4 separate regions of the Homo sapiens genome follow, and regions 1, 3 and 4 are each linked to region 2. Evidence: promoter capture Hi-C in 16 types of primary human blood cells and fetal thymus (Javierre and others, 2016). All regions are on one chromosome and are shown on one strand. The core of a region is centred on a gene start or on the middle of the fragment in contact, and the rest is flanking DNA. Distances in the headings are between cores, read along the strand shown. Region 1 overlaps TIMM21 (translocase of inner mitochondrial membrane 21). Region 2 holds the start of RTTN (rotatin). Region 3 holds the start of ZNF407 (zinc finger protein 407). Region 4 holds the start of CNDP2 (carnosine dipeptidase 2).

What was found. The method cuts DNA at HindIII sites, captures the fragments that hold promoters and counts their contacts. A CHiCAGO score of 5 or more calls a contact.
Region 1: a contact is called between a fragment that was not itself captured here and the fragment with the promoter of RTTN in region 2, in 2 of 17 cell types (naive B cells and total B cells). The highest score is 7.1, in naive B cells.
Region 3: a contact is called between a fragment that was not itself captured here and the fragment with the promoter of RTTN in region 2, in 2 of 17 cell types (total B cells and naive B cells). The highest score is 13.6, in total B cells.
Region 4: the fragment with the promoter of CNDP2 here is called in contact with the fragment with the promoter of RTTN in region 2 in 1 of 17 cell types (total B cells); the score reaches 5.4 in total B cells.

The regions. Positions count from the first base shown.
Region 1 is chr18:74,148,960-74,153,699 of GRCh38, forward strand. TIMM21 (translocase of inner mitochondrial membrane 21) reads left to right here. Exons shown (of 6, transcript NM_014177.3): 1 at 1-150. Among named protein-coding and RNA genes, the nearest start is that of TIMM21, 2.8 kb to the left of the region's middle. RefSeq lists an enhancer at 1,558-2,757. The HindIII fragment of the contact is 5,042 bases long and covers 1-4,740 here.
Region 2 is chr18:70,202,948-70,207,535 of GRCh38, forward strand. RTTN (rotatin) reads right to left here and starts at 2,740. Exons shown (of 49, transcript NM_173630.4): 1 at 2,681-2,740; 2 at 2,181-2,368; 3 at 1,139-1,316. The coding sequence starts at 2,711. It overlaps LOC105372180 (a long non-coding RNA gene), which reads left to right and starts at 2,842. Exons shown (of 3, transcript XR_935599.3): 1 at 2,842-3,627; 2 at 4,082-4,147. RefSeq lists enhancers at 2,440-2,569, 2,780-2,889, 2,808-3,437, 2,900-3,139. The HindIII fragment of the contact is 5,232 bases long and covers 1,258-4,588 here.
Region 3 is chr18:74,594,308-74,598,687 of GRCh38, forward strand. It overlaps ZNF407 (zinc finger protein 407), which reads left to right and starts at 3,563. Exons shown (of 9, transcript NM_017757.3): 1 at 3,563-3,630. It overlaps ZNF407-AS1 (ZNF407 antisense RNA 1), which reads right to left and starts at 3,528. Exons shown (of 2, transcript NR_024484.1): 1 at 2,121-3,528. RefSeq lists enhancers at 3,339-3,548, 4,339-4,380 and a silencer at 3,649-3,948. The HindIII fragment of the contact is 2,354 bases long and covers 1,816-4,169 here.
Region 4 is chr18:74,493,620-74,498,146 of GRCh38, forward strand. CNDP2 (carnosine dipeptidase 2) reads left to right here and starts at 2,744. Exons shown (of 12, transcript NM_018235.3): 1 at 2,744-2,812. RefSeq lists silencers at 109-158, 2,570-3,079, 3,210-3,259 and enhancers at 2,030-2,299, 2,857-3,369, 3,753-3,852. The HindIII fragment of the contact is 6,969 bases long and covers 1,191-4,527 here.

The sequences.
Region 1 (4,740 bases), core at 1,067-3,566, 3.9 Mb after region 2:
CGCTGCGACCTAGATGTATTCTTGGAGTCACCCAGAAAACCATCTGGACGCAGGGACCGAGCCCCCGAAAAGCAAAGGAGGATGGCAGCAAACAAGTGTCTGTGCACAGGAGTCAGAGAGGGGGAACCGCCGTCCCAACATCACAAAAAGGTAAAAAGGAGTACTTTAATGATTGGGCTTTCAACAGACATGACAAGAGCTGCCAATGCCCTTTTATACCAAGTTCACTGCTAAAGGTGAAAAAGCAATTCACATGAATTTTTAAAAACCGTTTAAACATAATTTAGAACTAGAACATATAGATCTACAGTTTTCTTCACAGATTGGAACTCAGATGTGAAAGTTGATCTTGAATTTGATATAACTTTTTTTCATTATGTTTGGGAAATTTTTCTCAAGTTATATTGGCTCTGTTACATATAATAAAGAGTAATTGGATAGGATAAAAAGAGAGAGAGAGAGATTATTGACTCATAACTGGTAGGGAAAACTTTCACATGTTACCTGCAGTAATAGAAAAACATAAAATAGGGAGGATGGAATGTAAGTTGTCAGGGAAAGTCAGAGATGTATTCACAGATATTTTAAGATTTTTTTTTAATGTCTTCATTTCGCATGTGATTTGTAGGAAAAAAAAAGACAAAGCAATTTAGACCGCCATGATTATACCACACGAAGATGACTATTTTTAACATTTTGCACTTTCATACACATACCTTTTAATAATTTTTAACCCAAAAAATTGGATCATACCAATTGTTTTAGAGTCTGCTGACTATGCCAAAAACCTAGCTTTTCATTCATACTAGTTCAGCACGAAGGAACAACCTGTATGCAGAGGTGAAAGGCATAGAAGTGGCAAACAGCATGTGCATCAGGTCATCTGGCTCAGGCAACAGTGCTCATGCTTGCACTGCACACCAGGCCTGCTTAGGGACCCCTTCCCTCATCTGCACCCCATTCAGACGTGACAGTCCTTGTGGCTGAGTGAATTGATGGGAGCAACATTCCCAAATATGGAATATGCTGCGTCCAGAATTCAAACAGGCCTATGAAGCATTGTGGTAGGAGGTATAGGGTACAATTGTCTTTTACTTGGGAGGGCATGTCTTGGCACGCCCCAGTGTAGCCCCACGAGGTCGGCTCATGTGTTGATGAGCCTCTGCATCTTTGTTGGACCCACCTCTCACACTTGCAGCTTCTCTGACCAAGCCTTCTAACACACTTGCCACTTGTTACTTATGGGCTCTAACATGATGGCATAAATATAGTAGACAAATGTGATATTCTCCTGAATGTCCAGAACAGCATTATTCAAATAAAACTTTCTGCATAGAAATGTCCTATATCTGTGCTGTCCATTTGGGTAGTTCCTGGCCACTTGTAGCTATTTTGAGCACTTGAAATGTTGCTAAAACTTGTGACTGAAGAACTGAATTGATTTAATTTTAATTAATTTAAAATTGAACTGAAATAGCCATGAGTGGCAAGTGGCTACTGTATTAGACAGCCCAGGTCCAGAAGGTTTCAGTCCCTTAAGACTGTTATGATAGAGGGTGAGAGAATTAGCAAATCCTGGGCAGGATCATAAACATACACTGTTATTATCTGTTTCATGTTACTACAGACTACTGCTGCTGCTTCTGAATAGAAGGCGTTCTTCAAAGCAATGGCCAATACCATGAGATTGTGTTAATGCATTCCCCTGTAAAGTTACCATTTGTGGTATTACATGTGTACCCCGGCTGCCACTTGGTTGAGTTTGCAGTTAACCACTGTCATTCTCCAGCACCTATTTGTGTTTTGTAAAGGAAGACTGGTAAATTACAAGGGACCGTGATGGGGATCGCCATGCCTGTATCTAAGGTCTCTAAGAATACTCTGCCATTCCCCATAGATGTGATATCATTTTTAATTTCCTATCTTGGTCACCGAAAGGGCAGCTTCAGGGGCTTCCATTTGACTTTTCCCACTGCGATGGCTCTTAACCCACTTCCAAAGGAACTAAAGTGGGAGTTATTGTTGCCAGTTACTCAGTACATCCCCTTGATTTATACATTTGGAAATCACAGAAATTATTGCCAGGTAAGTCCCTGGACCCACCTGTGAGCTTCTTACATCCGGTGATGGAGGGCGGTCAGGGGGTCATCATGACTCTTTGGGTCCTTGGGTATCACTGTCAGCACAGACTATGTCCAAGTTGATAACTGTAGGTCCTTTTGGTGAAGGACGGGGGGAGTCAGTTACATACGCTTTCCTTCAGTAAATGCGTTCCAGGTCTGAAAACTGGTTCAGGTCCAGAAACTGGGGCAATGTTCAGGACTTTGCATTAGAGCAGCTGCCTTCAGCCTCAGGAATCATCTGTAGTTAATTTCTCATGACTGTGTAATTCAGAAGTAGCCTTGTCCGCTGCCCTTGTGTCTTCCCTTTGGAAACACTGTGTTCTAGTCATCAACTCTGTTGCTTTCTGTAGGTCAGACACTCCCGACTGCCACTCCAGCCTTGCCATTAGTTATGATGGTTGCACCCACCTTGGCTTCTGTTTAACACCCCAGCCTGGTCTCTGCTTCATAATTCTTTCATCTCCATTTCTGTCAGGGCATCCTGCTCTATAAAGATGTAACTGTGGCTTCCTTGTGGCTTTGGTACACAGTGTCCTCCTGTCCCTCCTAAGAACATAGTCAGCTGGTGGGTTTTCGGGCTTTATATCTTATATCTATGGTAGCATCCCCATTCTTGGAGGCTGTTGAGCCTTTCGTCCAGTTTGCCATGGCTGTTCTGTCACTTTTACTTAATGTGGACCATCACTGTCTCGAAGTTTCCAGGAGCAGACCTAGCCAGCTGCATATCAGTTCCCAGGGTGCTTGCCTGGTTGCTAAATTCATCACAGGAGCGTGCCCCATGCTGATCAACTCTCAGCTGGTTTTGTGTTCTGTGCCCTTGACACACCACCCTTAAGAAGCAGTGGTGTCTATGTTCCCCCCCCCCCCGGGGGGACCTCCAGCTCCTTCCGAGTATTGTTCTTCTCACCCTTCTCATGCCCAGTCGTGTTGTAACTTGGCCAGGAGGGGAGGTGGAGAGCCCTCCTGAGAGCAGCACGTATCTTGCTAGGCAGAAACCCCCACCCACCCCTCGCCCAGTTTCCAAGGTGGAGGAAGTGCCAACCTTTACCAGACACTGAGCTGCTGCTTCAGGGCTAGAGGGGTCAGGAGAATTGGGATTCAAGATTTTTTACAACATTGACCTCAAGGGCCCCCTACCCAGCTTTAGGTTGCCTTTCCTCCCAAATCAGGACCCTGACCTTGGTGTGGGAGGTCTCATGGGCTTGAAATGCCAAACTCCCTGAATCCCTTCCGCCCCAGACCTCACCCACGCATTTTCTATCCTCTGGGTGCAATTTGAGTCTTGTTCTGCCGGGGAGGAGGCTCCTGCCCTTGGCACTCACCTTCACTGGTGATTAGTTACACACTTCATCTCACCATCCCTCTCCATGGCCCCAGCCACAGCCGTCTGATATAAGTCCTTAAAATTGCTGATTCCTCCTAAACTCCCAGAATAACACATCAGCCAGTACATTCCCTTCCGCCAGCATTCCATCCCAGGTCCCCATTGGTGAGAGCTGCATCAGCTGCACTACAGCTCTATGACAGGTGCTGTCAGTACCCCCCTACCACCAGGGACAGGGTCCTCATTGCCAGCCAGTGGCCGGCAAGCCAGCTCCAAAATCCAAATTGAGAGCTGCTTACCACTCCTGGTAGCACCCGTTGTAGGTTGGCTTCCCAGGGAAGTGGGATTTGCGTAAGGTTTATCAGGGAGTGCTCTCAGAATACGTCTTGAGGGATGAGGGAAGCAGGACTGGGCAGAGGGAGAGGCCGAAGTGCATTTGCAGTTGGGGCCTCAGCTGCTGCTCTGGGGACTTCTGGAGCTGAGCTGGCCAGTCACTGTCCTACCTAATATGGGGGCTGAGTCTTATGCTTCTGCATCAACCAGGCATTGAATATGGGCTGGTCCAGGGAAGTGCCGTGACCTAAGTGAGGAAGCTCTCTTATGATGGAATGCCCAGAGAGGAGCTCAGCTGACAACTGTCCGCTACCAGTGCTCCCTGCAGCTGGGAGCCCCATACCACAGCACCCACTATAGGAGGGGTAGAGAATTGTGGAAGCAAATAAATGGCATGAGGGTTTTTTGCATACAAGTATTAGGTCTGATAGGGTTCAGAAAGTTAGACAGTGAGCAGCTTCCATTGGAGACAGCTATAAAGTAACAAACAGAAATTTTTCAAGTGTGTAGAATATGGAGAATATTTAGCACAGGGCTTTATATATAACAGATATACAGGAGCTGTTGTTTATCAAATAAATGGAAAAGACCTGTCAGATACCCTAAGCAAGGTAGGAATGAATTGTTGGAAGGGACAGTCAGAAGTCCAGGGTGTTGGGGCCAATGACCCGGTTTGGGTAACAAGGACAAATAAGGATACTTACTAGAACTAGTTAGTTGTTATTGTATTCTCAACCTGGGAGTTGATACATAACTGGCAGGTAATATTTATTGAAATGTATTTTGTGACACTGAGAGTGGAATGAGATGTCGTCATTGTAGGCCCCAACTCCTGAACCTTGGAAGGGAAATTGGATTTGTGACAATTGTTTGAGTCAGTCCCATGAATTACACAGATTTTGGCAGATGAGGTCTTTTTATTATTTGAATAATGTCTTCTAAGTTGGGAACCTTGCTGAA
Region 2 (4,588 bases), core at 1,490-3,989:
AACAGGTTAAGCATCAAAACTTTTTTTTTTTTTTTTTACTTTTACTACTCAGTCACATAAATTGCATGAAGATGTTTTTCTTCAAATCAATTCAAATGCATTCCATGTGCAAGGCACTATACTAGGCATTAACAACAACACAACAGCAGCAGCACAGCAGCCAACACAGCCACATTTCATACATGCTGGGCCCTGTGCTAAGCACTTTACAGACATTGTCTCATCTAATCTCATGACGATTCTATGAGAAAGTGTTCTTTTTTTTTTTTCGAGATGGAGTCTTGCTCTGTCACCCAGGCTGGAGTGCAATGGAGTGATCTCAGCTCACCGTTGCAACCTCCGCCCCCCGGGTTCAAGTGATTCTCCTGCCTCAGCCTCCCTACTAGCTGGGATTACAGGCGCCCGCCACTATGTCCGGCTAATTTTTGTATTGTATTTTTAGTAGTGACGGGGCACCATGTTGGTCAGGCTGGTCTTGAACTTCTGACCACCTGCCTCGGCTTCCCAAAGTGCCGGGATTACAGGCGTGAGCCACCATGCCCAGCCCGGTGTTCTTTCTTATTATCCCAGTTTTTGAATGAGAAAACTGAAGCCTGGAAGGGTTAATTACCTTAGCCAAGGTCACACAACTAGCAGCAGAACTGAGACTTAAATCCATGTCTCTTTGACTTGGATTTTAACAAGTATATCATGATGGACTGCAGCATATAAAAATACTTGCATTATGTCGTTTTGATTGGTCCCCACAACAAGATCATGAGCTAGGACAGATATCATTATACTCCAATATGACGAACAAGGTCAAAAATACAAATATAAAGCACTAAGAACAATGAGCACTCATGTGCTCAATAAAAATACATTGTTATTGCCAAAAAAATAATCTGTCAAACTGGCCTCATAAAAGCAAAGTCACTGGCATCGTTTAGGCCTGACCCAAAAAGCAATTAATGCAAATGTACCATCCTTTGACTAACAGTAGAGGAGGGGAAAAAGGTCAAAATCATGTAAGTTAACACAAGAAAAATAAGTTTGGGGGAGGTGGGAGAAATCCTTTTTAAAAAAATCTAATCTCCCTTTCCTTAAAATTTACCATTAGAATTAATATATTTGTATTTAACAGATTCCAAAGAGTTACCAGTTTGATTGGTTTGGTATGAGGCAGAAGATAGTGCAGGAACTTCCGAAGGAAGAAGAAAAAGTCCATCCAGAATGCCATCAATTTCAGCCTGCAGATTTGGCTCCACATTAGACCGAAGCTTAGATAAGAACTCTACTGCACCAACGTCAACCAAATGTTGGACTGCTGGGGGATACTAAAATAAGAAGAGGATGATCTTGAGAATAACTGTATCAAAATCTCTATAACTTACAGCAATCAAAACATAAAATTATTTTTGGTATATCAGATGTTCCTTTTCTGAAAAACAAATCCTTCATGGCTCTGCCCCGAAGTAAGGCACTTCCATGAGGAGCACATACACCTATAGAGACATACATCCAACACTTGATAACATTTATGAAAGATGAGCCAACACACTGAACGCTAGAAATGCACATTATCAATCCCTACTCTTATTTTTTTAATGGGTTACTTTTTTCCACTGACACTCACCTTATGGTCCCAGCCCCAACCGGTCAACAGGATGTCAAAGTAGTTTAAGATTCCTCTACCATTGTACAGTGATTTAGTTTTGAAAGGTTAAACTTACACTTTGATATCTGACCCCGATAACTAACTACTCTTGAGGTAGGCATAAGAATACCAATCTAAAAGCATATGGGCAAGCAACTTAACATTGGTATTTATGAATCACGGTTATGTAACATTATTTTTAAAGTGCTCCCTTTCATACTGACATATCTAGTTTTTAAGATGTAAATGTCAGAAAACAAAAACAGAATACAAATATTAACCTCCAAAGATAACTCAAAAACACAGAACATACCAAAACTCAAAAGAAGTTCTGTGTTACTTCTGAGCACAGCAGAGACCATGTGGGATTCAGTATCACAAATAAAAGATGAACCATATACCCAGATTAATTAAAATTAAACATCTCTGGTTGATTAAAAAAACTTTTAACCCCAATTATTTAACTTTCAATAAACGCTACAATTAAATGACTAAGAAACAAGTCACTCGTCTGATTATTTTCTTTATTTCAAAATGACCCTACCTTAACCAATCTGCTTAACAGGTTCAGAACCTCTTCCTTCATCGGAACGGACGGGAAATTGAACCATTCCAGCAAATGAAGAAAAAGTTGCCTCTCCTGAATGAGATCAGCGTAGCAGATTAAGTTGTGCTCAATCTTGCAGAGAATACTCTTGAGAGCGCGCTCCCTGATCTCGGCCAGCTGATGACCTGTCAACGAACGGCACAAAACTATTTTATTTCCCGACTGCAAAGAGACTACGTTATTTATGCTGTGGGCAGGAGCGGCGTGAAGACGGAATAAACCAGTTTTTTTCAGAAGCAGGCCACTGGTGCCTTCGGGACGCGAACCGCGAAGTTTACACAAAGTCCGAGATGGGTCCCCGGGGGCTATCCTGACAAAGCGGGGGTGAAAGAGGGAGCGGTCGCGGAGCGGCCGGCCGCGGAAACGTGACACGACCATTCTCAGCAAGTGGCCAGAGCGCGGGGGGTGCCTTGGGCGAGGGGCAAGCTGACAGTTACCGAGTTTCCTGATGAGCCCTGCCAGGACCATCTCGTCCCGTCAATCTGCAGCCGCCGGAGAATTAAACTGCCGCGCCACTGCGTCCAGCCACAATTAATGTACCCCCGGAAACACGTCCTGTGGGACGGTGAGTTCCGCAACGCCTGCGCTCACCAGGAGTAGGAGTCATTACGTGAGCCCTTCGCGGCCCCAGCGTCGCCAGGAGAGCTTCCAGCCTCTCTAGAATCACTACTGCGCACTTCCTGGACAGCAGTCTCCGTCGCAAGAAGCGGAGGGAAAAAAAAAAGCAACAAGCAGGGATAGAACCAGCGTTGGCCGCCGCGCACGTCGGGAGTTGTAGTTCTGGCTAGGCCGTGCGTCCTGCACCGATCTCCGGGCCCGCCGCGGCGCCCGCTGGCCTGGGGTTCCGGCTTACAGCGCGGGAATTCGGGAACCCAGCGCGGGCTGCAGAGGCCCCAGCAGGAGCCCCGCCTCCCGGCTCGTCGACGGATTCGTTCTTGGCCCTGCCAATCTGATTCTCAGCTCCCAGAACTTCACGATTTAGAATGTAGACTTTTGCTTTGTGACAGTTCTCCCCATCCCCGACTACTAAATGACGAACCCTCTTTAACTGTGAAATGTACCTGCAAAGTCAAGCAGTGTCTTTGGATACCCAAGTTCAGATATGAACAAGCAAGCTACAAAAGCGGGGTGGGCGGGTATGAGTGAGCAGAAGAGAGAAACCGGGCTGCAAAAAAGGAAAATAAAGGCGGGACGTGGGGGTATGATTTGCTGAATGGTACCAAAGTTGATTTTTTGCACCGTGCACAGTGATCGAGCTGAGCAAATTATTTTTTTTTTAATTATAAGCAGCGGTAAGAACAACAACAAAATTACATTTGGAAAATGATTTGCATTTTCTCGGTCTGATCATTTCACGTTCCCTGGGAAAGGGATGTCAAGGCAGGTAAAGTGGGCCCTCGGTATCCCTAGGTAATTGGTTCCAGGACCCCCGCAGATACCCAAATCCACCCATGCTTAAGTCTCTTTTATAAAATGGTGTAGTATTTGCATATAACCTACACACATCCTCCTATATGCTTTAAATCATCTCTAGATTGCTTACAATACCTAATACACTGTAAATGCTATGTAAATAGTTGTTACACTGTACTTTTATTCATATTATTTTTTAATTGTTGTATTGTTATTTTCAACTGTGGGGTTTTTTCCCGAATATTTTCCATCCCGTGTGTTGAATTCTCTGTGTGCAACCAGTGGACAGCAAAGGCCTACTGTATTCCCATTCCTATTTTGCCAAAGAGGAAACTTAGAATCACAAAAGTACCCCCACACAAAGTCACATTAACTAGTAAGTGACAGATTGAGGAGCTGACCTGATGTTTCTTTGTTCTATTTAGAGTGCCTTGCTGCCTCCTCATGTGTGTCAATAGGAGAGTGATGATATTTGAGTTGGATCTTAAAGAGTAAGTAGGAGTTTGCCACACAAAGAAGTTGGGTAAGGAAATTCCTGCAGGAGAAACCTGTATTTGCAAAGGCAAGAATCCAGACGGAGTGTGTCAAATTCGGGAAAAGAACAAAATTCAAGGTGGCCATATTATCTCTGGGAAGAAGAGAGGAAGGGCAAGATTGCTGCTAGCATGCTGGATATTCTCCATTCCACCTTCTAGTGGTTCCTCCCAGCTCTTCCAGCTCTGCATCAACTGACCTGAACAGGCAAAAAGACTGCACTATCCAGGCTGCCTGGCCCTCTGGCTTCCAGTTGGTTGCCGCCGATAGGAGGCATCAGCAGGAAATTGGAAAGTAGGAGGAAAGAGATACGGATATTAAACCAAGATTCCACTAGCCCATGCCTAAGCCTGCCTGGCCAAGATTGTAACAGTGGCTGAATTCCTTGACCCAAAGAC
Region 3 (4,380 bases), core at 1,743-4,242, 4.4 Mb after region 2:
GAAATAATGCATATAAGGTTTGTTGCATAATGCCTGGCATTTATTTAATAGTTGATATATTTTAATTTCTTTTATACATTCTCATTTTGTCAACTTGCTATTGTAAAAGTGTTTACTATTCATTATCCAATGGAAAAATATCACATATACCCAGAAAAAGATGTGAATATATTGATTGCTTTCTTTTCTCAGACATGATAAAAGTATACATTTTGAACTTATGAAGACTGAAAATCTTTGCTCTGAGTTTTTCCTTTGCGACTTTCTTAAGACTGTAACTGGTATATTTGGCAATAAAACTTCTGTTATCATTTAGGTTGCTTCATGATGCAAGTAAAAGAAAACTGGACTTAAATAAGAAAAGGATTTTTTTTTTTTTTTTTGGTTAACAGGTCTCAAGTGTGGCTGGCTTCGAGCAAGTCTTGATCCCAGGGGTTCCTGGTGTCATTGTAACCACCCAACGGGTTCATCTTGCCCGCTGCCCAGACAGTGGATTCATCAAGACAAAGGAATTGCAATAAAGAGTTTAATTCACACAGAGCTGGCTAAACAGGAGACCAGAGTTTTATTATTACTTAAAGCAGTCTCCTGAAAATTCAGAGACTGGGATTTTTAAAGGATAATTTGGGGGAGTAGGAGACCAGGGAGCGGGGAGAATTGATGGCTCTGGTGTGACATGAAATCATAGGGAGTTGAAACTGTCCTCTTGCACTGAGTCAGTTCTTGGGTGGGGGCTACAGGACTAGATGAGCCAGTTTATCCATCTGAGTGATGCCAGCTGATCCATGAGTGCGGGGTCTGAAAAACATCTTAAGCACCAATCTTGGGTTTTACAATAGTGATATTATCCTTAGGAACAATTGGGGAGGTTTAGAATCTTGTGGCCTCTAGCTGCATTATTCCTAAACTGTAATTTCTAATCTTGTGGCTAATTTGCTAGCCCTAAAAAGGCAGTCTGGTCCCCAGGCCAGAAAGGGGTTTGTTTTCAGAATGAGCTGTTATCATCTTTGTTTCAAAGTTACACTATAAACTAAGTTCCTTCCAGAGTTAGTTCTGCCTATGCCCAGGAATGAACAAGGACAGAGTTTAGAAGCAAGATGGAATTGGTTAGGTCAGATCTCTTTCACTGTCATAATTTTCTCAGTTGTAATTTTTGCAAAGGTGGTTTCATCACTAGGACTCTCTGTCTTCACTAAAAGTCTGTGTTGTCCATGTCAAGCATTATTCATTCAAAAATAAAGAGAGGAAGAAAAAAAAAGACTTCCCTTTTTCCTTAGAATCAGAAAATTAGTCTTGAATGACATCTATGGACTCTCTCAGTTGGAAATGAGGTCAAACTGACTTCCTTAAGGTCCTGTCTTAGTAACTCAAAATACTCAAAATAGAACTGAAACATAAACTTAGATTTTACTTCACTGCTCAGGGGAGGAACATAAGTGTTAACTAAACCCCCAAGGTAAGAAAGGTAGCAAGATAAATCACCCAAAGATCACAGAATGCCCAATCCATATACAGAATTGTGCTATTGTTATTGTCAAGAAATTTATCACCTTGTCATACAACACCAACACTGTTGAAATAGCTATTAAAACACTGTAGGAAGTGCTAAATTTTCACATAAATTTTAAATTTCAAGTGAACTCTTTGAAGGCAGAACCCAGTTTTATCTTTTATATAACAGGCACCCAATAAATGTTGGTTAATGGAATACAAATAACATTTGCAGCTGGTCACTTGTGAGGAAATTGTTTCCCACATTTTTCTCTAGAATTTTTAATTAACTATTACTATTAAACTGAGTCTACATGATGGAAAAGCTTGACTCTGGAGTTTTAGGTTGAGTTCCACTTTTACTAGCTGTGTGATCTTGGAACAGTTTATTAGTCTTCTAAATTACTGTTCCTTACTGTGGATAAGAGAATTCATGTGGATTACAATCAGAATTAAACCAGATAATGTCTACAAAAAGTTTTCTATGAACTATTTAAAAAGGTAAGGAATTATCACTCGAATGTATTCTGATTTAAACTGAATTGTGTTCGAATTGGCCTTGAGTGACGATTTGGCCTAGAAAGCCTATCTTCAGAACATCACACACACACAAAAATCCAATTACTTACAATGATTTTTTTGAGACGGAATCTCGCTCTGTCGCCCAGGCTGGAGTGCAGTGGCGCAATCTCGGCTCACTGCAGCCTCCGCCACTGGGTTCAAGCTATTCTCCCGCCTCAGCCTCCAAGTAGCTGGAATTACAGGCTCGCACCACCATGCCTGGCTAATTTCAAATTTTTAGTAGAGACGCGGTTTCCCCAGGCTGGTCTCAAAATCCTAGCCTCAAGCAATCCACCGACTCGGCCTCCCAAAGTATTGGGATTACAGGCGTAAGCCACCCCGCCTGGCCAGTGATCTTCCTAAACAGAAATCTGATCACATAACTTCCCATTACAGAGTCTAACCCTAACCCTGTGCCTACAACATAGTCAAACCTCTTTAGCAAGGCAGATGACCTCAAGCAGGATTTCACTGCCTCTTTGTCACAGCACTTAACAAGCTGTGATGTATTTATTTTTATTCGTCTACACAGGTCTTCCCTACTAGATTCTGAGTTTCAGAAGAAAGGCCTCTAACTCGAGGTTCATGAATGGACCTGCACAAGGGGGCGGACGGGCTGAAGTCCTGCCTTTTTTTTTTTCCAAAAAACCCGTATGCTGTGCCGTTAACGTTCATAAAAAAGTCCTTGTCGAACGTTTTAAACAGCCAAGGTGTTTCAGCTTTAATAAAAGCTGAAAATTTGGCAATACCAAACAGGTCACCAAGCCACAGTCCGCTTCTTGGCCTCCTCTTTGGTATCAGAGTTCGGCTAGCGGCTTCCTGTGGCCTCTTAAACAAGGACCTCATTTTGGGAGCCATTCGAGAGATTTTTTCTCATCATCTAAAGTAGCATTCTCGCCTTGCACAGCTGAAAGTCATTTCTCGAAATCGGAGCGCCAGAAGCGACAGGAGCCACTCCAGGCCCGGGGGAAGCGAGCAAAGGGGCAGCGGGCTGCGTTTGCCAACGTAGGCCTCTCGGGTCCCGCGCCGTTCTGGGCCTTCTCCGTGTTTCCGGCGCCGCCCTCGGGGTCCCTTACAGAGGGCGGGAGGCGGGTGGAGAGACGGGGCAGGAAGCAGGCGGGATCGGCCTGGGAAGAACCCGTTCTGGGACCCTCTAGAAATCCCAGACAGCCCTCCCGGGCTGACAGCGCCTGCCTTGGAGCCCGACGCGCTCATCGAATTTAGATTGACTCCTTCGGCTCTCCGTTTTCCTTCTCTAAGGGAAGGGTGGGACTTCCTATTTTATCTCTTAGCGGCTTCCGGCAAGAGCTGATGTGTTAAAAACAAGACAGCACATGGGCCTGCCGGCCACTCGGATAAAAAACAAGGAACTCGACCTGGATTGTACTAAACCAGTTCCAAGATTCTGTTTTTCGGCTGTGGCGTCCGGCGCTGCATCCACTACGGAGTCGCCTTGGAAGCCACCGGAAGTCCTTCGACGGAGAAACAGGATGTCCCGCCTCTTCCTCCCAAAGGGAAGACGGTGAGCCGGAGGAGTCAGTCAGAGGGGCGAGCAGGAGCGATTCCGTCGCCAAACAGGTAAGTTATTCTCTGGCCGGGGCGGGGGGTTTGGAGGCGGGGACCGTCCAGCGTCAGCGCGGGGCCTGGGGGCGGTGGCTTGAGGGCTCGAAGCCGGGCGGCTGGGCGCCCAGAGCCCCGTCTGGGCCCTTCGCTCTTTCTCCTCCCCCCTCCCCCCGCCTCCGCCCCTCCCTGTCGCCTTCCTTCCCGACACCCGCCCAGACTCACGCCCGGACACACACCCTCGCTCGTTCGCTCACGCTGCCTCGCCGCCCTCCTCCCCCAGGCCCCAGCTGCCGCCCTGCCCTCTCACCCGCTCGCTCCGCAGGCCGGTCCCGCGGGCAGCCTCGCTCCGCGCCCTTGCGCGAGCGGAGCTCTTGTGGACACCTCGGGGCTGCGGACCTAGCGTGGCCTCGGTTTCCCCTGCCGGGTTCGCCTGTCCGCGCAGAAACAGTCCCCCGTTCCTTCGGGACGCACCCCTGCACCGAAATCGGGCCGTTCTCGCGTGCCCGGGTTGCTCTCAAGTGGAAAACAGATGCTCCCCTAGCTGCACAGCTGCAAGCTTTAGCGTCTGGTTTCCAGCAGGGGCTCCCTGGACCGCCCGCCCACTCTCGTGTCACCCCCAGGTGCCCTGGCTGCGCCGCTGCTACTCGCGCCTTCTTCCGTTAAGCGACGCTGGTGTGGGCGGGCGGAGGGCACACAAGTGCGGTGGCCGAAAGCACCGCGGTGGCAGCGAAGGGTCCTAGCCATTCCCGACTTCAGCTCGCTTTG
Region 4 (4,527 bases), core at 1,494-3,993, 4.3 Mb after region 2:
CCTTTCTCTTTCTGAAGTACTTAACCTGTGGTCACTCATCCTCATACTTCTTTGTTTTCTCTCATAATGTCCCTGTTGTCCTCAAAATCATCAGAGAGGAATAGGAACACATTTATGTAGCTCTTTAAGCTCAGGTTTGTTGCCACTGAGCCACCTGCAATGCACACTTTAAGAAGCAATGGACTTGCAGGGCCACCTGCTGGAAAATCAGAACTGAGCACACAGGCTCCAATACCAGCTACTTGCATTACCAGCTGTGTAAGGCAGTGGTCTTGAGAAAGATGACTGAGGGCACAAGGAAACTTAGGGACTCAGAGAGTTCTAAAGGGCATCAACCTCCAGCTTCTCAAATTTTCCAGAGGCTCTCTCCTAGAGCATGTAGGCGGTGCAACTGACCTGCTGACCTCAGCCAGGGTCTCCTGTTCCTAGGAGTCCTGGTCCCTGCACAAGGATGAGTAATTAACACTCATGAGGCACCTTCTCAGTGCCAGGCATTGTTCCTGATGCTGTATGTCATCAACTCTTGAAGCCTGGCATGCTCCAGACAAAGGGACAATTTGAAATGCCACATGGTATCACTGGAGGACAACTCCTTAATCAAGGACACTGATCAGGTACTGACTTAACATTGTTCCCAGGGGAATAATGACAATTAACATATTTCCAGGTAACAGGGTTCTATATTAAGGGTAAATGTTGTGTTTTGTATTTTCTTAACATTTATTCAGATTCATAGGAGAAACATGTTCACCAACTTCTTCAACACTGAGTACTGCAAATGCATTTTCATGTTTTCACTTGGACTGAAGCATCTGATTGCTCTAAAGTTCTCAACTACTTCTTTGCTCATTATTTATTCTTACCTTGAGCCTATTAAATTTTGGTAACAGTAGTGTGTTATGGCTTCTACTCTAAATCACTTCTTTTTGCTATATACATATGTGTGTGTGTGTGTGTGTGTGTTTTGTTTTTTTTTTTAACCAAACCCTCTTTTCAGCAATAATCTCATTTATGGATACCTGAACGAATTTATTTAAAAGCCCAGTAGATATGATTAAAGGATGTATCTTCCACCAATGTTTACTTTTTGCAATGTTTGCAAAATGTGTAATATAGTTTTTTCTTTTTATCATTCATGTACAATAATTATTATGAGAATTTAATCCAGAAGAAAAAATGTTAATACTTAAAGCTTTTTGGTTATAGCAAAGTGTCTATGGCCATACCACCCTGAACATGCCTAATCTCATCTGGTTATAGCAAAGTAAATATTAATTTAAATTTTTATCATAGTCTGTTGTAGAGAAATGATTAGGATATGAGTAAGACTATTAAGTATAAAAATGTTACATTTAACAAAATTCTATGAGGGATGTGGAATAGAAATAAAAAATAAAAGAGGAGGCAGGGATGGGGGGGACGGGGTGGCTCACGCCTGTAATCCCAGCACTTTAGGAGGCTGAGGCGGGTGGATCAGTAGGTCAAGAAATCGAGACCATCTTGACCAATATGGTGAAACCCTGTCTCTACTAAAAATACAAAAATTAGCTGGGTGCGGTGGTGCGCACCTGCAGTCCCAGCTACTCGGGAGGCTGAGGCAGAATGGCTTGAACCTGGGAGGCGGAGCTTGCAGTGAGCTGAGACTGGGCTACTGCATTCCAGCATGGCAACAGAGCAAGACTCTGTCTCTAAATAAATAAATAAATAAATAAATAAATAAATATAAAAAGAGGAAACAAACCATGTAAATTTTAAGGGAGGAGACAATTTTAACATTTTACTTTATGTGGGAACGTATACATCTCTTACAACTATTAAATTCATTTTTAAAAAATAATAACTCCCGAGCCATCACTCCTTAAAGAATGTGGTAGTGGTACAAGTTTAAAGAAAGTCTTTTGAGAACACTCTATTGGAAAAGTGAGCAGACTAGGGAATAACAATTTTACCCCCAAGAATTGTTGTTAAGATTAAAAAGGAAAGCGCTGTCGCAGACGCTCAAACACGGTGCTGGCTCTGCTTCCTTCATCAGTTCCTAGGGTCATGGGACACAAATACTAAAATATTTCCACTACTGGTAACGATGCTGGCGAACGCTTTCCTAATCCAGTTCAGACCGACCTCTCATTGGAGCTTGTGTGACCCGCAGGAGTCCGTGCCCCGACTCCGCCGGGACTGAAACGCAACGGAAAGTGCAGTGCTGGATGCGCAAGGGAATGGGAGCGTCGTGGGACCTCCGGAGCCTGGGAGATCAGAGGGTGGAGTCAGGGCCCCCTAGTTTTGGACTCCATTGCCGCACTGCAGGCGACTTCTCGGACCCCACCGTTGAAGCACCAGGCCCCCCGCCCACCCAAGAGCAACCGGGAAGCACAGCACAAGCCCACAGCTCCGGACACGCGCTCCCGTGTGCCCTGCCTCCCCTGAATCCCAACCCACGAAATCTCCGCCCCCTCGCCACGCCCACATCCCCGTCTACCGTCGGGGAGGGGCGACGAGGCGAAAGCCTTGTGGACCAGGCCGGGATTGGTGGGCGGGACGGAAATGGAGCTGGGAGAGGTGACGTCACCTTCCGCACCTGGCTCAGGGCGGAAATGGGGCGGGGAGAGAGTGACACCACCCCTCTGCCTGTGGCTGGATTGGTGGGCGTGGCGGGGGCGTGGCGATGCCTGCCCTCCGGACAAGGCGGGGTTGGTGGCCAGGGCGACCGCGGGGCGGGCCAGCGCCGGGGGTCGTGGCCGGGACACGTGGTACGGAACCGGCGCCGCGCTTGCTGCTGGTAACAGGGCCTTGCCTAGTGGGCCTTCCTTCCCAGGTGGGTCTTCCTGATGGACCTTCCTTCCCGGGTGGGCGCCCTGAGCTGGGAACGGGCTGGGCGGGGAGGACCCGGGTCAGCGGCGAGAGTCACGCCTCATTCGTGGGGGAGCGTGGGGCGCCCGGCCGCAGCCAGGCGGGAACAATGGTGTCCGGGCTGTTCCCGAGCGCGCGGTCGGGGGCGGAGGCCCGTGACGGCCATGGCCCCGGGGCCTCTCGCACCTCCGGGCCACTCGTGTCCCAGCAGCGCCGAGCGCGTCCCCGGTACGCAGGGACAAGCTGGGCGGCGCACTTGGCCTGAGCCTGCGTGGCCCTCCCTGGTGGAGTCGAGTGGAACGACCCGGGTTGGAGATGGGGTTGCGGGGAGCCGAGCGCTGGTCAGGCCACACCCCTCCCCAGGGGCCTGCTGAGAACTCCAGCCTTTCTCCAACGGATCCCTTTCCCGGAGACCTGGGGTGGGGAGTGTGGCGGGACAGAAGCCTCCCAGGTTCAAAGGGCCCTGGACAGCGTCCCTAGCTCCCGCCAGCATTTGAGGCAGCGTTTAAGGCTATAGGAGGAAGCGTCTGAGGGGAGACAAAATTCCCATGCCAGCTTGATGGTCTGGGGCAGGTGTCTTATTCAATTGGCTTCAGTTTCCTCATCTGTGAAATAGAGACAATATTTGGTCCTCACAGACAGGGCCACCAAACCAAACTCCCCACCGCCTGCCAAGGTCAGATTCCGTAGATCATCCAAGCATAGACTGCAGGAAGAGGCGGAGAACCCGGGGCCTGCTACCAATACCTTCCTTGTCCCTAATGTTTGCAGGCAGGAGTGGAGGAAGAGAAGTCCACATTATGCTTAGGGATCAAGTTCTAGCTTGGGCAGATTGGAGATTCTTTTATTGGTTCTTAATCAGACATGAAGGTGTGATTCAGTTATTTGTGTTATATATGCCTTCAATTATCAAGGGACAGGGACTGAGATTCTCAGAACTAGAAGACTCATTTGTGTGTACTACTGACGGTTCCAGGTGCCACAGCAATTTCTCCTGCCCTCCACTAGTCTCAACATTTAAATCATGTTACTCCCTTGCCAGGCATGGTGGCTCATGTGTGTAACCTCGGCACTTTGGGAGACCAAGGCGGACAGATCGCTTGAGTCCAGGAGTTCGAGACCAGCCTGAGTAACACGAGCAAACCCCGTCTCTACAAAAAATACAAAAATTAGCTGGGTGTGGTGGTGCGCACCTGCAGTCCCAGCTACTTGGGAAGCTGAGGCAGGAGGATCATTTGAGCCTGGGAGACAGAGGTTGCAGTGAGCCAAAATCACAGCAATGCACTCCTGCCTGGGTGACAGAATGACAACCTGTCTCTAAATAAATAAATAAAGTTACTCCGTATGAACTTTAGATTTTTAGAGGGGAGTGAGGTGTCATTTAAAAGGATAATGCTTTTGCTTAAATCAGCATACTGCTTTTACCTTAATTAGTGGTGTTCTCCAGAGCATATAAAAATGGTTCCATTTAATGGCTTTGTAACGGGGGAGGTGGGGGGAAGTGAAACAGGAGTAACCCAGAAGTGTGAATGGGAGGAGAAACTGGAACCTGGCCTAGCCTGGTTTGACTGGATGAGTGATTAACAGGAGTTGCTTTTTAGCCCATCTCTGATGGTGGAACAATCTGATCCCTGTTTCCTCTCTTTTAGTGAAAGTCGTAACTTAGATAATTACAGTCAT